Regions from separate parts of the Homo sapiens genome. Here region 2 is linked to region 1. The links are contacts of gene promoters, found by promoter capture Hi-C in human tissues and cell types (Jung and others, 2019). All regions are on one chromosome and are shown on one strand. The core of a region is centred on a gene start or on the middle of the fragment in contact, and the rest is flanking DNA. Distances in the headings are between cores, read along the strand shown. Region 1 holds the start of SLC9A4 (solute carrier family 9 member A4). Region 2 overlaps SLC9A4 (solute carrier family 9 member A4).

Region 1 (4,079 bases), core at 976-3,475:
TTGCTAGGATTGGGGTAGGGCAGAGTTTGGTTACGTATGCTGACAACCTGACTTTTCTGGGTAGAAACTGTAGTCATAAACTGGGATCTGGGATTAGAGGCAGCCCCATCCTCGTGGCTACATTCATCCAGAATAGAGTTTTTCTCACATTGAGCTGAGGGGTGGGTAGAGAAAACAGGCCGTGCCTTCAGGTCTTACCAATATTTAGAAGATTTTTTTCAATTTCTGTCTGCTCTTAGGACAATTTCCAGAGACTGGATGGTTGTTTTTGATTTTTAATGATCTCACCAGTTATAGTTGTTTCACTAGGAAATCTATGGTGCTTCTTATGCTGTCATTCTAGAAGAGCTTCTCCTTTCTTCCCCCTTTCCCCTCACTTTTGCTGCCCTTAGTTTGCACTTCTCATGGAAGCTTTGTCTCACATACACTTTCTGGGGACCTTATACTAAGAAATCATTTTAGAAAGAATGTTCTGACATCTGTAAGAAAGTACTGCATGAGTGGAAGTGATGCCGATGGTTGATGAAGTGGGCTGCTACATCTTAACCTGGACCACAAGTTAGTAGACTGTTGCAGAGCTCAAGTTGTTCTCTTACCATCCTCCCAAGATTGGCATTTTTACTCTGAGAGGGACTGGACTATCAGCCATCAGGTGATCATAAGGCTAAACGGGTTGCCATATACTCACAAAATTTGGAATTTTAGAGCAGGAAAGGGTTACCAGGTATGGACAGCATCTTTATTTTATAGATGAGAAAACTATAAAGGCTCAAACTATAAGGCTCAAACAGGTAATTTTCCAAAGCCAATCAGATAACTAATGTCTGAGTACATAAGTCTTTTGATTCTTCATTTTGGTCTTTCCACAAGGCACTATGTGAGACTTGCTCCCTCATTTCTTTTTAGAAAGAAAAGTACAATAAAATGCAAATAAAAATAAAACACCTATTATAAAGCAGCTTTCTATTAAAGGATATTCATATATTCTTTGAGAAAAAATAATCGACTCAATATGTGTACCCTTCTTGTAGTCCACCTGATAGTCTCATTTCAGTGACTGAATCTAATCTATTCTGGAGTCAAACTGAAGGAAAAAGAAAAAATATTCATATGTGAACTTTTAATTCTATTGCCTCACTATGAATTTGCATCTAGGTGTTAGCCCTTCTCAACCATTCCTTTCTCAATTTCCCAGTGATGTTAGCTGAGTGTGTGTGTGTGTGTGTGTGTGTGTGTGTGTGTGTGTGTGTGTGTGTTGGCTGGGGGGAAATCCCCTGCACTCACTAATATGAACTAAGAAAAAACAAAACACAAAGCATCTTGCAGTTTGATGTAAAAGAGATGTTGGGGTAGTATATGGATGATGTATTATTCTCATTTTTTACTGAGTATCAGTAATCATTGCAAAAGTGTTGTATCTTATCCTAAAAGTATAAGAAATGTAATTTAAAATAAAAACTAACATTTAAGTGCCAACTACATGCCAAATTCTTTACTTGCTTTATCTCATTTAATGTTCCTAGCTACTCAATGAGGCAGATATTTTCCTCTCTGTTTCAGATAAGGAATTTCTGAAAGGTAATTAACTTCACCAAGGTCACCTGGCAACAAGTAGAAGAGCGAGAAGTAGGCTCATAAAAATTATCTCAAAATTCTTTCATCAACATTCTATGATGCTGCTTCTTTTTAACAACAACAAATGTTTTTTAAATGGAAAATCTGGATGTGCCATGGAGTTTTACAAATCCAGGTATTTAGGTGTATTTATGGAACTTGTTCTTTGGCTTCCTGTTTTTTAAAAATTATAGTGTAAAGTTCATAGAGATCTGGAACTTCATTCCTTCTATGAATGACTGCTCATGGAGTCTGGTAACATGCAAAAGTTTCAGTGTTTGCTACCATCCTTGTTGTTACCACCTCCTTCTTATCCTCCTTCTTCCTCATGTATAGAGACCATATAAGACAGTTTGCTGGACAATTCTGGTTTGTGCCTATAGCTTTGCATAATTATCATTATTATTCATTCCCCAAAGTGTCCTGGTTTAGATAATTTCATGGTCACCTTAACGTTCATAACTGAAAGTGTCAAGGGTGTTGTATTGCAGGTGCCCACTAGGTGTCAGCAGTGTGACCTCCAGAGAACCCTCAGAGAAAGGATTTCATTACAAAAGTCAAATCAAAGCAAATAATTAAGTGTAGTTCCAGAGCTACCTGAAGCCGTGGTCATTCAAAACAAATGAGAGGACAGGGGGAGGAGAGAAGGAACAAGCGCAGATCAGGTAGCTCCTTCTTGGGATCTGATAGACAGGGAAGGTTTCCTTTCCTCATTAGAAGGACTCCAGTGATCTGTGGAATGAGCACTACAGTATCCTTTTAAATTTTCACCCACAAGACAAAGCCAGTATGCAGTGAAATGAGGAAATGCCTTTAAGTGAAGAGATTTTTATTTCTTTCATAAATTGCTCAAGCCATGATTGGATGGAGGTCCTCCAGGTAGCTCCATGGACTTTAACAAGTCTATTGAATAACTGCATTTGAGTTGGAAGCTGAGTTGCCTGAACACAAACGATTTAAACCAGATTAGAAAGTGTCTACATACAGAGCTCAATAACACACTCGGAATCTTCTTGGGAGGACCCACAGACTGTACCTATATTACTTTTGACCCAGGTGGATGCAGTCACTCTCTAGAAGCCTCCCCGACTTCAGATGTGTGGCACACATCCACACAGGGGTGTAGGTAGGAGAAGCCCACAGGAATGGCTCTGCAGATGTTCGTGACTTACAGTCCTTGGAATTGTTTGCTACTGCTAGTGGCTCTTGAGTGTTCTGAAGCATCTTCTGATTTGAATGAATCTGCAAATTCCACTGCTCAGTATGCATCTAACGCTTGGTTTGCTGCTGCCAGCTCAGAGCCAGAGGAAGGGATATCTGTTTTTGAACTGGATTATGACTATGTGCAAATTCCTTATGAGGTCACTCTCTGGATACTTCTAGCATCCCTTGCAAAAATAGGTAAGTCCTTAAACACCTGGTTTGGTGAGTTATCTTTTTACATAAGATAGTGAATGTGAAAATGCCTTATAGATAACGGGCTAAGAGGATTTTAACTGTTACTGCTATTACATTAAAAATTCTCTTCCCTTCAGTCAAGGGAAAGTCATAACTGCATTTTACTAAGCTATTTAATACTTTGAGATTGCTCTTTGAAATTTGAGAGCATACTTCTGGGTACTGGGCTGTGTTGGTTTCTTCTCATTTCAGGGTGACAACCATGTGACATTGTTGACATGCAAAACTCTCAAATTCTATGCTTTAAAAATATAGAGAATAAAGCACGTAGACCTGGGCATGATGCAAGGTGGAAATTTCAGGAAACACATAATGTTTCTTCTGTAAAATATTCTTGGCTGTGTAATTGTGGGCTTCATCAATCACCCCATTGTTTATTCTTTAAAAGTAGCGTGTGCTTCTTGCAAATTGACAGAAAGCAAAAAACAAGAAAACCATAGGCAACTTGTATTACTCAGTGATGGGATGTCGGGGCATATAAGATTATATCTGTCAGTAAAATATTAGTTTATACCTACCAAGTGGGGCCAGTGAGGCACCTCTAATTTCCTTTGTGAAATAAAGTGAATCCAAGTTAATAGATTAAATTCCAATCAAGGGATCTTTGTGTCAAAAACCAAAGAGGTGGCTATACTCTGTGACTGTTTAATCCCTAACTGCTCCTCCTTATCTCTTTAAAACCAGCTTATTCTAAAGTGGAAAATTAATATAATTATCTCAAATGCTAAGCACAATGCCTCCTTTGCCTCAGCTATAAACTTTATGCTATTTGAGTATGTAGATTGCCTTATTGAGATAGAATCAATGAAACATTTTAATTCTCATTTATTTATATGTGTATGTTTTCTCTAGGATGGGTGTGTAATGTGGGTTGAGCCTTGAGGTCTGGCAGTTACCTTCTGTGTGCTCTGGCTATTCACTTAGCTCCCTCCCTGTGGGTGTGGGGACACTGGTATAGGTGTCCCCTTTAGACTCTCCTTTATAGTTGCTATTCATTTTGAGCTAGT
Region 2 (4,079 bases), core at 794-3,293, 37 kb after region 1:
TTTGACTAGTTTTGAAAGGTGGGACAAAAATTATGAATATAGATTAGAAAATATATACCTTACATTAACAAAATCAAGATTTTATTAATTTAAACACATAAATGCAGGCACATACACACAACACATGCCAATAAACTGTAGCGAAGATTCCCACTTGAAGTGCTACTGTCTCACAACTATCAAAGTGAGAAGCCATAAAAGATACTCTACCTGGGATAGACAATCATGGGTGTATGATGGAATTAGGCTGCATTGTTTGCAGGGCACGCGCACACAACCTCAGTTCACTAGCTCTGTATCTCTGCTCGTTCATGATCCTCTGCTCTAATACACGTTTCCCCCTTTCTAGGCGTATTTGCTCTCTTCTATATCAGTAACCAGTTTCGGACTTTCCCCTTCTCCATCAAGGACCAGTGCATCATTTTCTACAGTGGTGTTCGAGGAGCTGGAAGTTTTTCACTTGCATTTTTGCTTCCTCTGTCTCTTTTTCCTAGGAAGAAAATGTTTGTCACTGCTACTCTAGTAGTTATATACTTTACTGTATTTATTCAGGTAAGTAGATTTCCCTTATATTTAAATAAATAGGTTATTTCAGGACAATGTAGTAAATTAGTAAAATACAAATAAAGGCATTTTATCTGATTTTCAGATCTGTGCTCAATACCCAAACTAAATTTCCGGAGATTTCTAGATCATGTTTGTGACCATCCTTTAACTTCTAAAATGTATTGCCTTTTAATCAATACAGCATATTTATCAAAAGATTCCTGAGTAACAGGTGACTAATAGTCACTCCATATTTCTGAAAATGAGATTCCAATTAGTACTACGTAGCACAAGTTTTTGTTTTAGTTGGAGTTAGCTCTTAATGAACTAATGAAAGATTATTTTAATGGGTGAAACCAAATTCCTATATTAACATACAGGCATGATATCTATTTTTATTGCAGTACTTAAAGGAATGGAAAACTGAAATGAACATTGCAGCATTTACTCTGTAATAGCTAGTACAAAAACATATAGATTGGACATTCTAATAGTTTTGTTAATAAATTTGCTCTCTCTAGTGACAGTCTTCATTACAACAAAACCCTTTGTTTTGTTATTTCTGATCTAGGGAATCACAGTTGGCCCTCTGGTCAGGTACCTGGATGTTAAAAAAACCAATAAAAAAGAATCCATCAATGAAGAGCTTCATATTCGTGTAAGTTATCTCATAGTCACAATTAATAAATTAACAAGACATTTCCCCTTTGTCACCATGAGACATGTGCACGTGTCACTAGACTTCCTCTTTCCTTCCCCACTCTGCCAAGAGTGACTGTATAAGTTTCCTATGGCTGCTGTAGGAAATTGCCACAAACTTAGTGCTTAAAACAATGCAGATCTATTGTCTTATAGTTCTGGAGGTCGGAAGTTCAAAATCCAGTTGTTGCAGGGCTGCGCTCCTTTCTGGAGGCCCTGGGGAGAATCTGTTTCCTCACCTCCCACAGCTTCCAGAGGCTGCCTGTGTTCCTTGGCCCATGGCCCCTTCCATCTTCAGAGCCTGCAAAGGCTGCATCCCTCCAACAATGATCCTTCTGCCTCCCTCTTCCACACTGAAGGAGCTTTATGATCCCACTGCAGCCACGTGGATAGTTCAGGAGACTGTCTCCAGCTTAAGGTCAGCTGATTAGCAACCTTAAGTCCATCTGCCACTTAATCCTCCTTTAAACTAAACTACCATATTCACAAGTTCTGGGGATTAAGACATGGATATCTTTGCAAGGTCATTGTTCTCCCTACCACAGTCTGCCGTCTGTCTCCCAAAGATTCATATCTGTTCCACATGCAAAATATCTTCCTTCTATCCCAATACCCCAAAAGTCTCAATACACTGCATCATCAATTCAAAATCCAAAATATCATCTGAATCTTATCAGTTCAAAAATCCCAAATCTCAATATCTCCATCATCTAGAGCAGGGCTCAGTGAGGCTCTGGGTATAATCTATTCTGAGGCTCAGTTTCTCTTCATCTATGAATTTGCAAAACTCAGGAAACAAGTTATCTGCTCTTAAAATATATGGTAGGACACTCATTGAATAACAGTTGTAACTGTTGCCTTTCAAAAAACTATGGAGATAATGGAAGAAAAAAAGGAGTCATCGATACTAAGCAAACTTCAATGTTTCCTGGGCAAGCTCTATTTGGTTCCAAGGGCTGGGAATCCCCTAATCTCTTGCAACTCTTTGTTCCACCCTCTGGGTTCTCAATTTCACCCTCTGAATCATACTTCCTTTTTTTTTTTTTATAAAGGTAGCATAAATTTGCAGCTGAGTAATTTTATCAGTCTATTTCTTGCTTATAGAATTGTGAGGGTCCGACATCTTTCTTTCATTTTGTCCTCCTTTTTTGTCCAAGCTGGTGATGTTTCCATCAGGGTTCAACAGAGAAGCAGAGCCAGTAGGATGGATGGATATAGATATAGATAGATATAGATATAGATACAGATACGGATACGGATACAGATACAGATACAGATACAGATACAGATACAGATACAGATATAGATATAGATATAGATATAGATATAGATATAGGAAGAGATTTGTTGTAAGGAATTGTTTTTCACTAGTGTTAGGGCTGGCTAGGAAAGCCCAAAATCCAGGGGACAGGCCATCCAGAAGAGCAGGCTGGAACCCTCAGGCATGAGCCAAAGCTGCTGTCTACAAGTAGGATTTTTTCTTCATCAGGGAAGCCTCAGGCCTGTTCTTAAGACATTTCAACTGAATCAGTCCCACCCAGATTATCTGGGGTCATCTCCCTTAAGACAACTGATTATGGACTTTAATCAGATCTATAAAATACATTTACAGCAACATCTAGAGTACTGTTTGATTGAATAACCGGGGACTTGCCTGTCTAAATTGATACCTCAAAATACTATCACAGTGACTAACATTCAAAATTGTCCTGTTTGTTTCTAAAATCACCGTTCCAATGAAATATGGGGTCCTCTGCCCTTTTTGAATATAGGAGGGGCAAAGGGTATTACTTCTTTTGCAAACATGGCCGAGTGGCAGATTTTAGTGAAAACATCCCAGTCAGGCAAAGATGAATATGACACTGGGCATGGTTTCTATTTGTTTGTTCAAGTTCAGCACAACATTGAAGGGATACCACTGTGTACAGCTCCAAGGAATAGAAATGAGAACTAATGTCTGAAGGGTTATAGGTGGAGACTTCAACTCAGTTAATGAAAGAGCATTCTGACAATCATTTCCTGATTGGCACACCCGAAGCTGAAGTGGATGTGTCTAACCAGTGATTGGGAACATGTGGCATAGTTGCTGCACATGAGATTCAAGCTTTGAGGAGATAGTTGAACTTGAAAAATTTTAGGTTTCCTCTATCCCTGAGAATTCACCATTTTAATACTAGAGAAACTGATGAATGATGAAGTCTTCCAAAATCTACCCTAAAGTTCATGGTCAAAGTGACCTAGGAAATTTGGTTATTTAAATTCCAGGAAATCCTAATGAAAAATTTTCAAGGCCATTTGAAAATAATTAACAGATAAGGATAAGTAGTGACTGTTTTAAAACATGTAACAACTTAACATCTATCTTTATCTCCTATGATTTATTATTTCGACATATTGCATAATCCACCTAAGTCCATGGAACTTGGATATTTCACTCTTCTCTCATTTATTTTTCTTTTCCTCAAAAAAGTTATAATTTTTGGTAGAAGGTAGTGAATTAATTATTTAATAATTAATTTAATATTTCAAACTATTTTTCAAAACAAAATTCAGAAGCCAGTATAGACTTCAATAATTTCAAATTTAAAATATTTGGAGACTAATTTCATAATTATTTTGAAGATTGCACTTTTTCCTAAATTTCCATAAACAATTTGGGTTAAAACAAATGCAATATAATTTGCTTAAGTGGTCATATGTAATTACTCAGATCAAACGAGCATATTAAAATGAGAGATACTTTGTTATTCTATGTTATAGTAGAATATTAACAGAATTATATTTTCAGAAATTATATGATTGGATAACAGTGTGTTCTTTTCTTCTGCAATGAA

The links. Contacts are between HindIII fragments. The study calls those that stand out against the background at their distance.
Region 2: a fragment that was not itself captured here is called in contact with the fragment with the promoter of SLC9A4 in region 1 in 1 of the 25 tissues and cell types used here (small bowel).

The regions. Positions count from the first base shown.
Region 1 is chr2:102,471,001-102,475,079 of GRCh38, forward strand. It overlaps SLC9A4 (solute carrier family 9 member A4), which reads left to right and starts at 2,226. Exons shown (of 12, transcript NM_001011552.4): 1 at 2,226-3,015. The coding sequence starts at 2,760. The HindIII fragment of the contact is 8,886 bases long and covers 1-4,079 here.
Region 2 is chr2:102,507,730-102,511,808 of GRCh38, forward strand. SLC9A4 (solute carrier family 9 member A4) reads left to right here. Exons shown (of 12, transcript NM_001011552.4): 5 at 350-552; 6 at 1,118-1,204. Among named protein-coding and RNA genes, the nearest start is that of SLC9A4, 37 kb to the left of the region's middle. The HindIII fragment of the contact is 5,271 bases long and covers 1-4,079 here.